Linked DNA regions of Homo sapiens: region 1 is linked to region 2. The links are contacts of gene promoters, found by promoter capture Hi-C in blood cells and fetal thymus (Javierre and others, 2016). All regions are on one chromosome and are shown on one strand. The core of a region is centred on a gene start or on the middle of the fragment in contact, and the rest is flanking DNA. Distances in the headings are between cores, read along the strand shown.

Region 1 (7,266 bases), core at 2,854-5,353, 650 kb before region 2:
GGATGGGGTTCTTACATGGGTGACTGGGCAGGTAGTCCTGGCTCCAGGTCCCTCAGAGGCTGGGCTGGATGCTGATTCTGAGGACAGTGTGGGCTGGGTGGACTCCACCGGTCTCTCTGCAAGTCGCCTTAGGACTGGGCAAACCAGCAGGAGGGCAACAGGCTTCAGGTGCCTGCTGAGGGCAGGGCATCCTGGCTCAGAGGCCCCTCCCTTCTCCCTATGGCCAGGCCTCCTTCCTTCATTTCCATCCCCAGCTGCCTGTGGCTCACTGACCATGCACAGAGGGGCGAGCCCTTGTTTATTTTCTTTTTTGAGACGGAATCTTGCTCTGTCACCCAGGCTGGAGTGCCATGGTGCGATCTTAGCTCACTGCAACCTCTGCCTCCCGGGTTCAAGCGATTCTCTTGCCTTGGTGGCTGGGATTACAGGCATGTGCCACGATACTAGGCACATTTTTCTATTTTTAGTAGCGACATGTTGACCAGGCTGGTCTTGAACTCCTGACCTCAAGTGATCCACCCGCCTCGGCCTCCCTAAGTGCTGGGATTACAGGTGTGAACCACCACGCCTGGATAGCCCTTGTTTCCTTTCTACATTGGATGCTGGATGGTGCCCACATCCATCCCCTTCAGTGGTCCAAGGCCAATGGACCCCAGTACTTTCCTAGGAGACACCTGGAGTCTCACGGCCAATAAATCTGAGGTGCAACCTAATATCAAGGCTACAAACTACAGAGAAGGCCTGGACCGCTCCCACCGGAAAAGGGCCTCCTCCCTGCCTTGTTCCTGCCCCACAGCTGGGATCCTTTAGGAATTTAAAGAGAAAGCAGCTTTTGGGTCAGTATAACCTTAGGATAGGGAGAGGAGGGAGTAGCCTCCCATCTCTAGTCCAGAACGCTCCAGAATCTCACTGCATCCTGCCCCTCCCCCTCTGCTCTCTTCCCTTCCAACTCTCTGCTTCCAAGTATGAAAACTGTAAATCTGTTTTATTTATTTCAATCAATCCTCGGCAGTGTGCCCCTCAGGGCAAAGGCAGCCATGGTAACCCTGCCAACTCATGCCTTAAAAATTCATCGTTGTTTAATGCAGTCGATGTGTCTGGTACACTTAAAAGTTTCTTGCAGGGAGTGGGGTGGGAGGAGGAGGAGGATGCGGAACTTGTTTTTCTGGGCTTTGTAGGGAGCTGGTGGAAAGGGGATGGAGGGAGGAGGGGCACAGGAAGAGGCCTTCAGTCCTCTTAGCCATCTGTCCCTCTGTGCAAGAGGAGGTGCCATCGGGCTCTGGGAGGTCCCAGACACCTGTGCTGGGCTCATCTAGAGACCTCCATAGAAGGTCTCATCTGGGTGGGAGCTGCCACAGAAAACGAAACAGTCTCACAGAGGCAGCTGAAGCCTCAGCCCCCCAGGATTAGCAGGTCCCTCACCCTAAGTTTGGGGCTTGCTCTAGAGAGCAAGTTGACTCCCGCTTTCTGAACTGCCCAGGGTGGAGTCAGATGACCCTTGCTGCCACGGGAGGGGCTCTGCCTTCTCCTCAGAATGGAAGTCATCTTCTACCTTGGCCCATCGGGCTGGCTTGGCCTTTTTTCTTTTTTTTTTTTTCAAGATGGAGTCTCGCTCTGTCATCCAGTGCAGTGGTGTGATCTTGGCTCGCTGCAACCTCTGCCTCCTGGGTTCAAGTGATTCTCCTGCCTCAGCCTCCTGAGTAGCTGGGATTACAGGCGCCCGTCACCACACCTGGCTAATTTTTGTATTTTTAGTAGAGACTGGGTTTCACCATGTTGGCCAGGCTGGTCTTGAACTCCTGACCTCAGGTGATCTGCCGCTTTGGCCTTCCAAAGTGCTGGGATGACAGGCGTGAGCCACCGCACCTGCCTTGGCCTTATTTTCCATGTGTCTTTTCAGTCTGACCACCCCGTCCCCTGTGTCCATTCACAGGTACTCAAGCCCCCTGTTCTTTCCCAGGACAGCCCTCCCCTGTCTCCTGCCTCACCTGCTGCTAGTTCCCACCAATTTCCTTCCTAAGGTGGTACTTGGCCCCTGGGCCCTCCCTGAGCCCTGGTTCCTTTTCAGCTTACACCACAAGGCCTAGGGCTGGGCCCCTACAGGCAATGGGGGAGATGAATGCTTGTAGGACAGAAAATTAACTTCCAGGAAGGGACAAGGTGGCCTGGGTTACTTTGGCCGTGGGGCTGGGCATGCACATGGAACTGCAGGCCAAGGGGCTTCAGAGTCAGGTGGGTTCTGAACTGTGTTATCAGGGTTCTTGGCGGGTGTCTGGCTCTGGCGGAAGCATTTCGCATTCTGCAAGGAGTCCCTGTGAGGGAACTCAGCAGGTGTTTGACTCACAATGAGGTCTGCGTTTGTGTCTTAGAAAAGAGGCTGCGCCTTCTATCCCACATAGACACACCCCAGAATACGGCTGGATGCAGGTCAGATGGCGAGGGCTGGGGACAGGCGTGTAACCCTGTGCTGGAGGCTCTGAAGCTGAGATAGCAGGAAGGACCGATGGGGTATCTGCTGAGATAGTGTCTTGGTGTTGGAGAAAAACGCAGTGTGAGGAGGGCAAGGCCGGGGTGAGGAGACAGCTGGGTGCGGGGAGGAGGGGCAAGAGTGCGGCCGGTCTGGCCCCTGCCTGGAGACCATTGTCCCCCGGCCATGAAGCCTTGGCACGGCCGCAGGGACCTTCTTGCATGCTGAATCCTCAGTGCAAATGAAAACAAAGGGACTGGTCACTAAAGGAAATCCTGTTGTCTCCATGATAATCAACTCCAAGAAGTGCTGAGAAGTGCCCAAGCCCTTGGGTCCCTGCTGGGCTCCTGCCCTCTCTTGCCACAGGGATTTCCTCCAAGCTGGAATCACCATTTCCTTCCTAATCCTGGCCACAAATGACAGTACATTAGGAACATCGTGTACATTCAACTCCTCAGCATGGGCCACTTGTGATTTCAGCCCAGAGCCCTTTCTAGCAGAGAATGCCATGTGCGGCACAGATGAGAGGCCTTGCCAAAGACCCCCTTGGTCAGCCTAACCCCAGCACCAAGTACTCACTGCTGCCCACCCACCCCTTTGTCCCCCAACAAGCTCCAGGGCCTACACAGCACAGAGCCTTAGACACACTTTTCCGGGAAGACAGTTTGGACCTCCTGAGCTGCAGAGATCACTGGGGCCTTCTGGTGTGGACTGGAGCGAGTTTCTCCAGAAGCTTCCTGTGGCTCCGGGGCAGCATATCTGTAGCCAGCTCCTTTTACCCCACTCTCCCGCTGGAGCCACCTCTGTGGGTGGATGGCACTGACCACACCTGGCTGGGATGGTGTTGGCCTGTGATCCACACTTAGTTCTACCCTCCTAGGGCAATGGTTTGTCTCCAAGGGTACGAGAGGGAAGCAGGGCCTTGAAACTGCAGCCATAGTTCTGTAGCCTGGACCCAAACTCTGACCCAGCGGAGAAAGTCCACGGGGCTGACTCCAACAGCAGGTTCCCGGAAACCAGTTGGGAGCAGCAGCTCCTGAGTATGGGAGTCAGGCCAGCTACTGCCTGAGGTCCAGGCTGGGGAGATTTTAATATAAAGATTCCTGGTGCCCAGGGAGACATGGCCAAGGCTGGTGCTCTGAACTGGCTGATACATTCCCTGGCTGACACTGCCAGGGAAATGGCCAGGGAAATGGCATCCCTGAACCCTACCTGCCCTGGGGCCTCCTGGGCTCTGCTGGAGAACTGCAGCTGTAACCTTTCTCTCCCTTTGAAGCCCTCTGGGCTTGAACCCTCTAAGCAGGATTTCCTCCTGAGGATGTGCTCAGCTGCCCCCGTGGAGGCCAGCCCTGCCCACGAGGAGGCCGCCACCGCCTGGCACGCTGCTTCCTGGCCCTGCCTGCCCTTGCACGCCCCTGCCACCCGCATGGGACAGGAAGGAACTGAAGCCAAGGACTGGTCCCAGGCCACACAGCCAGGGCCACAGAGGGGCCAGAACTTGGGTTTCTGACCTGGCACTCATGTTCCCATGAACATGTTCCCATGCTCTGTGGCATCTGCAAGGGACACAGACCTCCCTTCCCTGGCTGGCTCCCCTTCCCACCCATTCCCTGCAGCTTGTATGCCCAGGGCAGAGACACCCCTTCACCCTGTGGCATGTGACCTCACACAGGGTCCTCGGAGATTGAGTCTGTCTTGGGACGGGTAATGGAAAGGCATCCCTGCATCTCTGCCATTTTCCCCTGCAAACCGCAGGGGGACTTGTGAGGAATGAGGCGGGTGAGGGACAGCAGTGCTGGGACCCGAGTAAGGTGGCCAGAGCTACTCCGGCCCCAACAATGTCTGGCGACGCCCCTTGCCCGTGTTCTGATCACCAAGCTGTTTGTTTTCCTTTACTTCAGGCGACGATTCCCAAACTAGTCCCTTTGTTCCAGGCCAGGGAGCACTCCAGCTGCTGCGTATTCCACAGTTTACAGATGGTGAGCCTCCCCTTCTGCCTCGTCGGTGCTGGACCAAGACACGGAGGCCTCGGCAGGGCCCACACTCGGCCCCTCTGGCCTTGAAGCCACGGACCCAACTTGGGTCCAGCAGCCCCAGTGTTCATATGGCCATAGCCCCGTGTCAACATTTCCCTCCCCCAAATTATTTAACCAGATGGGCTGTCCTCCTGGTCATGGGCCCTGGGTGATTACAGTGATTCACTAGTCTCTCGTGTTCCCGTGGCAACTTTCCTTCAAAGGACCTCCTGCGCTCTGAAGGAGTTCCGGCCAGGGGCTGCCATTCTGGTTTCTGGGGGCACCTCGAGTGCTCTGCCCTGGGCGCCATGCGCATGGCTTCAGCTCCACGTCCCTCAGCGGGGAGCCGCCAGCCCCTGTCCCATCAGTGTCCTCATCCACCCAGAAGGCTGCGCATTTACCCTCTAGAACAAAGAGGGTCCCTCAAGCCAGGAATACCCTAACTGAGGAACCCCAGAGCCTGGCTGTATGCATGGACCACGTGCGGGCCTCACCTCCAGGAGGTCCACGATCTGTACTCTCAACAAGCTTCCGGGGCGGCCAGAGACCTGCTGCCTGCAACTGCCTCACCAGGCCTGATCGCTTCAGGCATGGCCATGCCCTCCTGAGGGAAGGAGGAGACTCTGGCAGGAGTCTGAGAGGATGGGTGGCAGCAGGGCCTGGCTCGGCCTTGGAGCTCTAGGCGGAAGGCCCTGACACTTGCCTTCTTGAGGCCCCACCCCCACCTGTGCAGAGTCTGGGTCCTGGTTTACGTTTCTGCTTGGCATTTCACTGTTTCCCTGCTGGTCTCTACCTTCACGGTCCCGAGCCTGCTGTGCACAGCCCTGGCCTCCTCTGTTCAAACAGAAAGATAAAGAGGTCAGCTCTTGGGCAAGACCTGTGCTTGGACTCTCCCTGGCCTCCTGACAGCCATGTGGCCTGGCCCACCTGCATAGCCCCAGCACCCCAAGAGGAAGCACAGCTCACAGCTGCTGCCCTGGGCACGGGCCATTCCTGCCTTTCTGGCTGTGATTAGGAGCTAGAGCCATGAGTGCCTTTCTTGTCTTCACATCTTTAGTCCAGGGGTTTTGTGAAATTTTATGAACTGAGATGGCTTTCTCTAGGCTTTATAAGTGCCCACTTAAAGAGCACTGAGATAAGTGTCAGGAAACAGGACGAGAAGTTAAACATGAATACTCACCAGTGGTAACAAAGAGCAAATATCAGAGCAGCCTCACGGCGGCCTCTGAGAGGCCGGTAAAAAGATCAGAGTCTCAAAGGACTGGGAGGATGGAGGTGCCACAGCCGTAGTGGTGGGCCACAGCATGGCTGGGAGGGGGCTCCTTCAGTTATTCTCGGCCAAATGGAAGGGGAGGGGTTCTCCTATTTGTACCCTCCCCCACCCCCTCCCGGGAGGCTGAAAAAATTCCTTTTGTGATCAGCCATTTTCAGAGAATTTTAAGACGGATGAAATAGGCTTTTCATCCACATGTTCCCTGCCAGCCCAGGAAATCTTCCCTGGATTAAACGCGTGAGAAATAAGAGGGCCCCAGACATGAGGCGTCCTTGGAAGTCACCCGAGGGGACATGTCTTAGTCCTAGCTCTGGGTTACAGGCGAGGCGCCCTATAGCAGAACTTGCGCTGGTGGGCAAGAGGCCTGCTCCCTCCACTCCCCACCAGGATCACGCCACTGCCCCTCTGAGCAAAGACACGAGGTAACCACCGACAGAGAAAGGCGGGTGGACAGATTTAATACTGGGATATGGCAGCCTCCGTGGGGAGGGACAGTGACCCTGAGCCATTGGGCTCAGGCTGGGAGCGTAGAGGCAGTGTCTAGCCGGGCTCAGGATCCGGAGGGAGATGTGTTCTGCACAAAGACAGTGAAGGCGGTGGACCTGGGCAAGCTGCAGAGCTCTCCGAGTCCAGAGACCACTGCTGCCAAACCAGCACCAGACCGAGCCTCATGCTGATAAATGCACAGAAAGGGCTGCAGAAGGAAACACACCAAGCTGAGACCCAGAGGCTACTTCTGAGGGAGGAGGTGGCAGGTGGTCAGGGGTCTTTCCCATTTACTGCTATACCATTCTGCATTATTTCAGTTTTTATTGTATGTGGTTTAATATTTCTAAACAGAAAATAAAGTATTGAGAATCCTCTGTGTGCTTCTCTTGGACTCCTTCTTGGAGAGGCTTGGCGACGGAGCCCACGGGCAGGGCTGGGGAAGGTGCTACCTCCCCAGGGCATGGGTGCTCCAGCCTGGCCACGATAGTGGAGCTTTCCTCTCTAGAGGGGCTGCTGCAGGTTTAACAATGGAAACATGCATTTTACAAATGAGAGGATCAACAGCCAGGAAAAGGTATTTTTAGCTACGGTGGCTCTTTGCTTCAAAGGCGTATGTTTCATCTAAAACCAGGCAAACCTCCTACAAAGTCTGCCTGCTTGCAAGGAGTGATTAGCATAATACAAGCACGAAAAAAAAGGCCTGGCTCCACTTTGAGGCAGGAGTGCCTACTACAGGGGGAGGCTTTCTCCTAAAATAGAATCGCCAGCAGATGAGGAAAGTCTTATCAATGGAGACGAAGCCCCCATCTCCACTTAGAGCAAAAAAGCTACCGTGCGCGAACAGCCTGGCTATGACGGGCGCGCTGCAGCCACCAGCATAGAGCAGGGTCTGAGGATGGAAACGCTGACCACAGTTCCGCCCTGAAGACCACCATTCTGGGTGCTGTTTGAATCACTTTTGCCTCAGGCTCCCACCTTCTTCCAATTAAAGTACAAAGGGTTTCGGGCTGCCTTTCCAGACG
Region 2 (6,406 bases), core at 1,458-3,957:
CTGACTTTGTGAAACTAATTACCTTGATTTTTAGAAAGGTTCAAAGAGGTTAAATAGCTTTGCCCAAGGCCTCACAACCAGCAAGAGGGTTTTGAGCCCATATCTATCTGACTCCAGGGCAGGAACTTGTAACTGCTCAATGTGGCTGTTTCTGCAGGACTCAACTTGGAGATAAACCACAAACGCACCAGCTTGGGCTCCTCAGTCCTCCAGGAATGGGCCTCCCAGAAACAGACCAACTGTGCATCTGAAATGAACGAGGCAAGACTGTCCCAGTAGACAGTTTAAAGGTCACTGTGGCCACCCTACTGTCATACCCAGAACCATGTCCCCCTGATCTCAACAGCTCTGGAAAGCAGGAAGTAGGAGCTTCACTCTTTACTCCTCACCAGGAAAACCAAAGTAGCATGGAGACACTGGCTTTGCTTCTTGGAGAAGCAGGGATGAGCTCTCTCACCCAACACAGATTTGGGACAGGGGCCTGAATGACAGGTGTCAGAGCCCACAGGGCTGAGCCTGGCCCCGTGGGGGGCTGTGCAGCGCAGTGGTTAAGAACTTGTGTTCTGGAGACAGTATCTGTCTTAGCCTTTCCCGTTGGCCTCCCGTTGGGGTCAGCCCCTCCAGGATCCATTCATTAGCTACCCCAGGGGAGGTGATGCTGACTGAGAAATTTCTTGCCAAGCCAACCACTGATCACTGGCTCCATGAAGGGCGGCAGGAGCCCTAACTCATTTAATCCTCAGAACAATTATATTATTATTATTATTACTATTATTAGAGACAGAGTCTCGCTCTGTCGCCCAGGCTGGGGTGCAGTGGTGCGATCTTGGCTCACTGCAACCTTTCCGCCTCCCGGGTTCAAGCGATTCTCCTGCCTCAGCCTCCCAAGTAGCTGGGATTACAAGCATGCACCGCCACGCCTGGCTAATTTTTTTTTTTTTTTTTTTTTTTTTTTTTTTAGTAGAGACTGGGTTTCACCATGTTGGCCAGGATGATCTCAATCTCTTAACCTCGTGATCTGCCCACCTCGGCCTCCCAAAGTGCTAGGATTACAGGCATGAGCCACGGCACCCAGCCAACAATTCTAAAAGGCGTATGCCCACATGCCCATTTTGCAGAAGAGAAAAACTGAGGCAGAGACAGGTTATATAATTTGCTCAAGGTCACACAGCTTATTCTGGGATTCACACCCAAGCAGCCTGATTCTTGAGTGCCTACTCTTAACCACTGAGTCATCCTGCCTCCCTAGGGACTTTGGTGAATCTCTCAGCAAGGTGGATGGGTACCTCTAAAGCTAGCTTTTGATGACTTCTCCCCCCAGTCTGTTCCTGCAAGTAACTCTAAACACATTCACCCTAGGCAAAGAACAAGTGGTTTTGGAACCTGCATTCTCTATTGCCCCTTTGAGACTCGCTCTGGGCTTGGCCCTCTCTCCAAGGGACAACCCTCTCTCTGTCTCCTCCTGGGTTCCCCTCTCCCCCAGCGACCTCCTTTTCATTCTCACTTACCTCCTTGCCTTTCACTCTCCTCTTGGAAGGTGGTTCAGCTAACACTCATTAGCACATGTTAAAGATCGCCAATTCATGTCTCAGTCACTCCGTAGCAGGAGAGGGGAGAAAGGAGGGATGATGCTGTCACTCTGTGGGTAATGTGTCTTACCTTACCACACCACAAGGCCAGGACAGACCCCTAAGGGCTCAGACCGCAGGAGAGAATGGGGAGAGGGCCCAGCTCCCTGCTGGGGAGTCCTGTCTGCTGCCCTCAGGATGTGCGCTCAGTAGCTGCGTCTATTTTCTCTGAGACCAGCTCAGAACATCCCCAAGACAGAGTTGGACGTTGTTCTCTGTCCACTGGAGCAGGCACATTCCCACGATGTCCCTAGGTGGGCGTGGTTAAGACCTGGTACGGGTTGATCTAGTTCTGCCACCCCCTGGCCAAATGTCTAAAAGCCCCCCAGAGCATGGCCAGCGTGAGGCAGGTACCAGGGGTGGAGGGAGGCTCCGAGGGGACGGATATACGAAGACCCAAACAGACAGTGGAAGCCCCCCACCCCCACCCCACACCACTTCCATCGGAATCCTCCCGGGGCACTGCTGATTCCAGCTGCTCCCCACTAAAGCCTTGAGAACTCTTGGCTGCTCTGCAAGACTGAGCCCCATGAAGGAGCCACGTGCGGCGTGGAAAGAGTGCTGAGTTCAAATTGTAGCCCTGCCACTAATTTGCTGGGCCAGTCACTTAATCATCTGAAGTCACAAGTACCTCATCAGAAAAGTGGTCCCAGCTCTTCCTGCTGTGGAAGGATCAGAAGAGAGGAGGCACGACAGAGACCTAGTGAACTCCGAAGCCCGAGTGCTAAATATTTGTCAAGTTTGTGTTAGTATTACTATTAGTGTTGTTACTGCTGTTATTATTATTGCTACTGCCAGCAATAATAAGTGGTGGATGTACTCAAGACGGTCGGGAGGGAAGGCAAGGGCAGCCTCTCCCTCATTTTCACCGAAAATCCTCCGGGTGTCCCTGGCCCCGCGCCGAGGGGTCTCAGCGCAGAGGTAAGGGCCCTCTAGGAGTCCGGGCCGAGCCTCTCGCGCCGCCGCCCCCGCCGCGCCGCGCCCCGGTCGGATTCCCTGAGCGCGCGCGCCCCCTTCTGGCGGCCGGGCGCAGGCGCAGGCTCCAGAGCGTATATAAGGGCAGCGTGGCGCACAACCCCAGCGCGAGTGCCAGAGCCCAGCCGGCGCGGAGCGGGAGCGGTGCAGGCTGAGGTCTCCGAGCGGCTCGCCATGGCTGGCCCGCAGCAGCAGCCCCCTTACCTGCACCTGGCCGAGCTGACGGCGTCCCAGTTCCTGGAAATATGGAAGCACTTTGACGCAGACGGTCAGTAAAGCTCCCAACTTCTGTGCCCATTGGCACCCAGGGGACCTGCGGTGAAGGGGGCAGGGGGCGGCGCTGAATGCGGGCAGGTGTACGTTTGCCCTCAGGAGGTGGTCTGGTCGCAGAGCCTGCTGGGGTAGTGGTCCCGGGTTTGGGAGACATCCGGCTGCTCTGGGCACAACTGTCAGTAACTTTCTTCCCTAACATAGATGACCCAGAGCCCACCCGCATTTGCACCTTTATTCTGAGCAAGTGGGAGCTTTCTCAGAGAGGTGGCCTGGGCTGGGAAGGCCTCCAGGTTCCCCCTGCCATCTCCCCCACCTCCCCTGCCTTCAGCTGCTCCAGCCACAGGTCTCAGAAGACCACTCATTTCTTTCCTCCTCTTCCCCTTTTGTTGAATGCTAGGTTAGCCCCCTTACCCTGCTGGAGGCTGGGATAAATTAGGGGATCCTGAAGGGAAACGTGGCCTCCCCAGCTTGATTGGCTGGGAGCAGGAGTGGAAAATGGCATTGGGGGCCCTGAACACCCCCCTGCTTCCTTTGTCCATTTTCCAGCCGCCGTGGGCATGTAGGTTTCCCAATACAGCAGCAGTGGGTGTGGTGGCGGGCAGCGTTGGGGTGCCAGTCCCAGACCTGTTCCCTCATAGTGATAATCCTGGGTACTCTTGGTGACTTCATCTCTGGGTAGGGGGAGGCACCACCCTAAGTGCCTCAGTGACTAACCCTCTGCTCTGTGTGGTCTTGACACTGACTCACCCAAAAAGCAAGGGCCAGACCAAATGACCTTTGGAGGTAGCCCCCAGCACTGGGATTCCAAGTGTCTGTGGTGGTCTGACTCAGGCATAAAGGGTGGTCCTCCTTTAGAGGCTTTTGATATCACTAGAGACTCTGTTTCTGTTACTCCGAAAAAATAAGTGATCTGATTTCCCTCTCTACGCACAGACCTGGCTAAGATGAGCATCCAAAATATCCTGGCATCTCAGACATTTTGTGGTGTCTGTAGCTACCCTCCCCTCGGGTAGCTAATGGCTCCTGGAGGGGCTGACCCCAAAGGGAGGCCAACGGGAAAGGCTAAGACAGATGCTGTCTCCAGAAGACAAGTTCTTAACCACTGCACTGCACAGCCCCCCAGGGGGCCAGGCTCAGCCTTGTGGGCTCTGACACCTGTCATTCAGGCCCCTGTCCCAGATCTGTGTGGGATGACAGGGAGTTTATCCTGGGGTCTGAGAGCAAGGGGGATGGAAAACAGAGGGGCATCAGGTGTGCCTCACTCCATTCTTCCCTCCTCCCTTCCTCGCCTTGGCAGGGTGTGGAGGTGGCTGGGCAGAGATCCTCTGCCCAGAGTGCTATGGGGAGGCAGGGGTTAATGTCTGGGGATGCTAATGGGTGAAATTTTGTTTCCTTGGAGCCAACTGAGAAAGCTAGAGGGGTAGGGGACTAGGCATTTGAATACCTGAGTTAGGACTGTGATCTGCCTATGAATTACTGATGGAAGTGGGTAGATTGTTAAATCTGTAAAATGGGGCTAAGGAGGGATTGTGTTTCCAATCCCCAGCTCCTGCCATAAAATTCCCTTGGTACAAAGTGCTCTCCTAAGAGAAGTGCAGCCTTTTAGTATTCCAGATGACATGCACATTCCCTAAGGAGGCTCCTGCCAGTTTATCTGCACCAGACTTGCATGATTCAAGGAAAGTTACCAAGCAGCCAAGGTTACACCACTGGCTTCCTGGTAGATGAGTCAGCTATAAACAGAGGACTCTATAGTTCTACTTTCCCCCATTCTCAGAGGGACAAGCAAGAGCACTGTCCATAACCACGCAGATCCTTACGTTGATCTGAGACATTGTACTTAAGCACAATTGCACCTTCTCAAGGTGTGAGGCTGCTGGGCAGACCATGACTCCCCTTATACAGATGAGGAAACAGACACAGGGGTTGACTTTTCCGAGGTCATGGAGCAAGTTACTGGTGGGGCTGGTTCCTGGCCAGCGTTTATTCTCCCACTCTGGTTCCTGAACACCTGCTTGGTTTGGAAGAGGGTTTTTTTCCATGATGATAGGTATAAGTCTCCCTCCCATTCCCCCAAAGAAAAGCCCCCAGCCCACCCTTGGGGTTGATGGGCAGTTTCGTGTATCCCAAAATGGGGTCCTTGGCTTGGCTAGAGTGTAGTTAAGCTACCACCAAACCCATGATCTTCAAAGCCTCCTAAAGCCATTGTGCCTCTGGCTCCCTCCTGCTCCGGGGTGAAGGGGGAGCTTGATGCTTGCACCTTCTTCCTTGTCCATCAGACTTCCACTGCCATCTCTACATCACAGCCTCAGGGAAGTCCCAAGGAAAGGCCATGGACCCGACAGAGAAGGAGGGCCATGAGGATTAAAATACCAGAGATGAGAGAGAGGTGACTTAGGAAGATATGTATACAGCCAAATCGGAATTCCACAAAAGGATCCAGAATTAGGCTTTGGGCGACCTTCCTCCCCTCCTGAACACCCAAAGGCTGCCAGGTGAGCCCAACACCGCAGTGCCTGAGGCACTCCCAGCCCTGTTTAGGCCTCTCTCCTACCAATTCTGGTTTCCGTTTTCAACATGGGGTTTCTTCCCAATTCTAAGAGTACCCCCTACCACTCACAATCTTAAAAACACCTGAGAGAACTCTCCCTTGCAGCTCTCCAGGTCCCTGGAGTGGGCTCGCTGGAGCCCAATTAACCACAGCCCCCAGAGAGTTGGAGCCACCTCCCCACCCCTTCTGGATGCTGGCTGGTAGTAAACAAAGACAAAGAGACCTTAGGAGGCAGCTGAATCCCAACGAGAGGGAGGATGGGGGCAGGAGGACCCTTAGCCCATTCCAAAACAGAAAAAGCCACCATCACCCTAAAGAGTTGGATTATTTTCAAAATTCTTATTAGCTTTGTGGTAGAGAAAGGAAGAAGTGTATGTTTGGAGAGTGAGAAACTAGGACTCAAAGAGGCAAAATTCTTTTCACAAGATCACACAGCAAAGCAGGAAGAGGTGAAGGGGGAACCAGGAATCTGGTCTCCTAGTCCGCAATACCACTCCACCAACTCTGCCTCAGCAGTCAGCCAAGAGCATGCGTTTGGGAGGGTTCCAATGTTGTCTCTCAAAGGCTGAGGTAGGGAAGATGACAGCCAAGCCCACCCAGTGACCCTGGTGGGGTCTAGGGCTCTTCCGAACATCACCTCCATGCTCCGAGTGGCCCTGACGTGGCCTTACGTATCTGAGCCCATTGCTCTGTTGCTTCCTGGACACTTCTGTATCAGGACCTTTCCCCCTCTAAAGGATCCAGGTGGCTGAGGGATGCCCAGTTCAGAGTTCACACTGTCCTTTATTTATGGTTCTGATTAGACAGGCCACCGGGCTCCTATTTTACTGACCATCTGCGAGCAGCAAAGTTGTGGCTCCAAAGAGAAATGCCTTAGCTTTTGCTACCCCTTTGAAAGCAACTAAGAATGTAAAGATAAGATGAGTTCTCTTCCAGGGGCAAGCAGACATTCATGGGGCCAAGGTGAACATCCTACTCC

What was found. Contacts are between HindIII fragments. The CHiCAGO score rates a contact against its expected background, and 5 or more counts as called.
Region 1: a contact is called between a fragment that was not itself captured here and the fragment with the promoter of CALB2 in region 2, in 2 of 17 cell types (M0 macrophages and M1 macrophages). The highest score is 6.8, in M0 macrophages.

What each region holds. Positions count from the first base shown.
Region 1 is chr16:70,706,218-70,713,483 of GRCh38, forward strand. The region is part of intron 14 of VAC14 (VAC14 component of PIKFYVE complex); the gene reads right to left. Among named protein-coding and RNA genes, the nearest start is that of MTSS2, 24 kb to the left of the region's middle. The HindIII fragment of the contact is 1,810 bases long and covers 3,199-5,008 here.
Region 2 is chr16:71,356,016-71,362,421 of GRCh38, forward strand. CALB2 (calbindin 2) reads left to right here and starts at 2,708. Exons shown (of 11, transcript NM_001740.5): 1 at 2,708-2,871. The coding sequence starts at 2,778. RefSeq lists enhancers at 2,439-3,404, 4,431-4,725 and a silencer at 2,507-2,736. The HindIII fragment of the contact is 14,542 bases long and covers 1-6,406 here.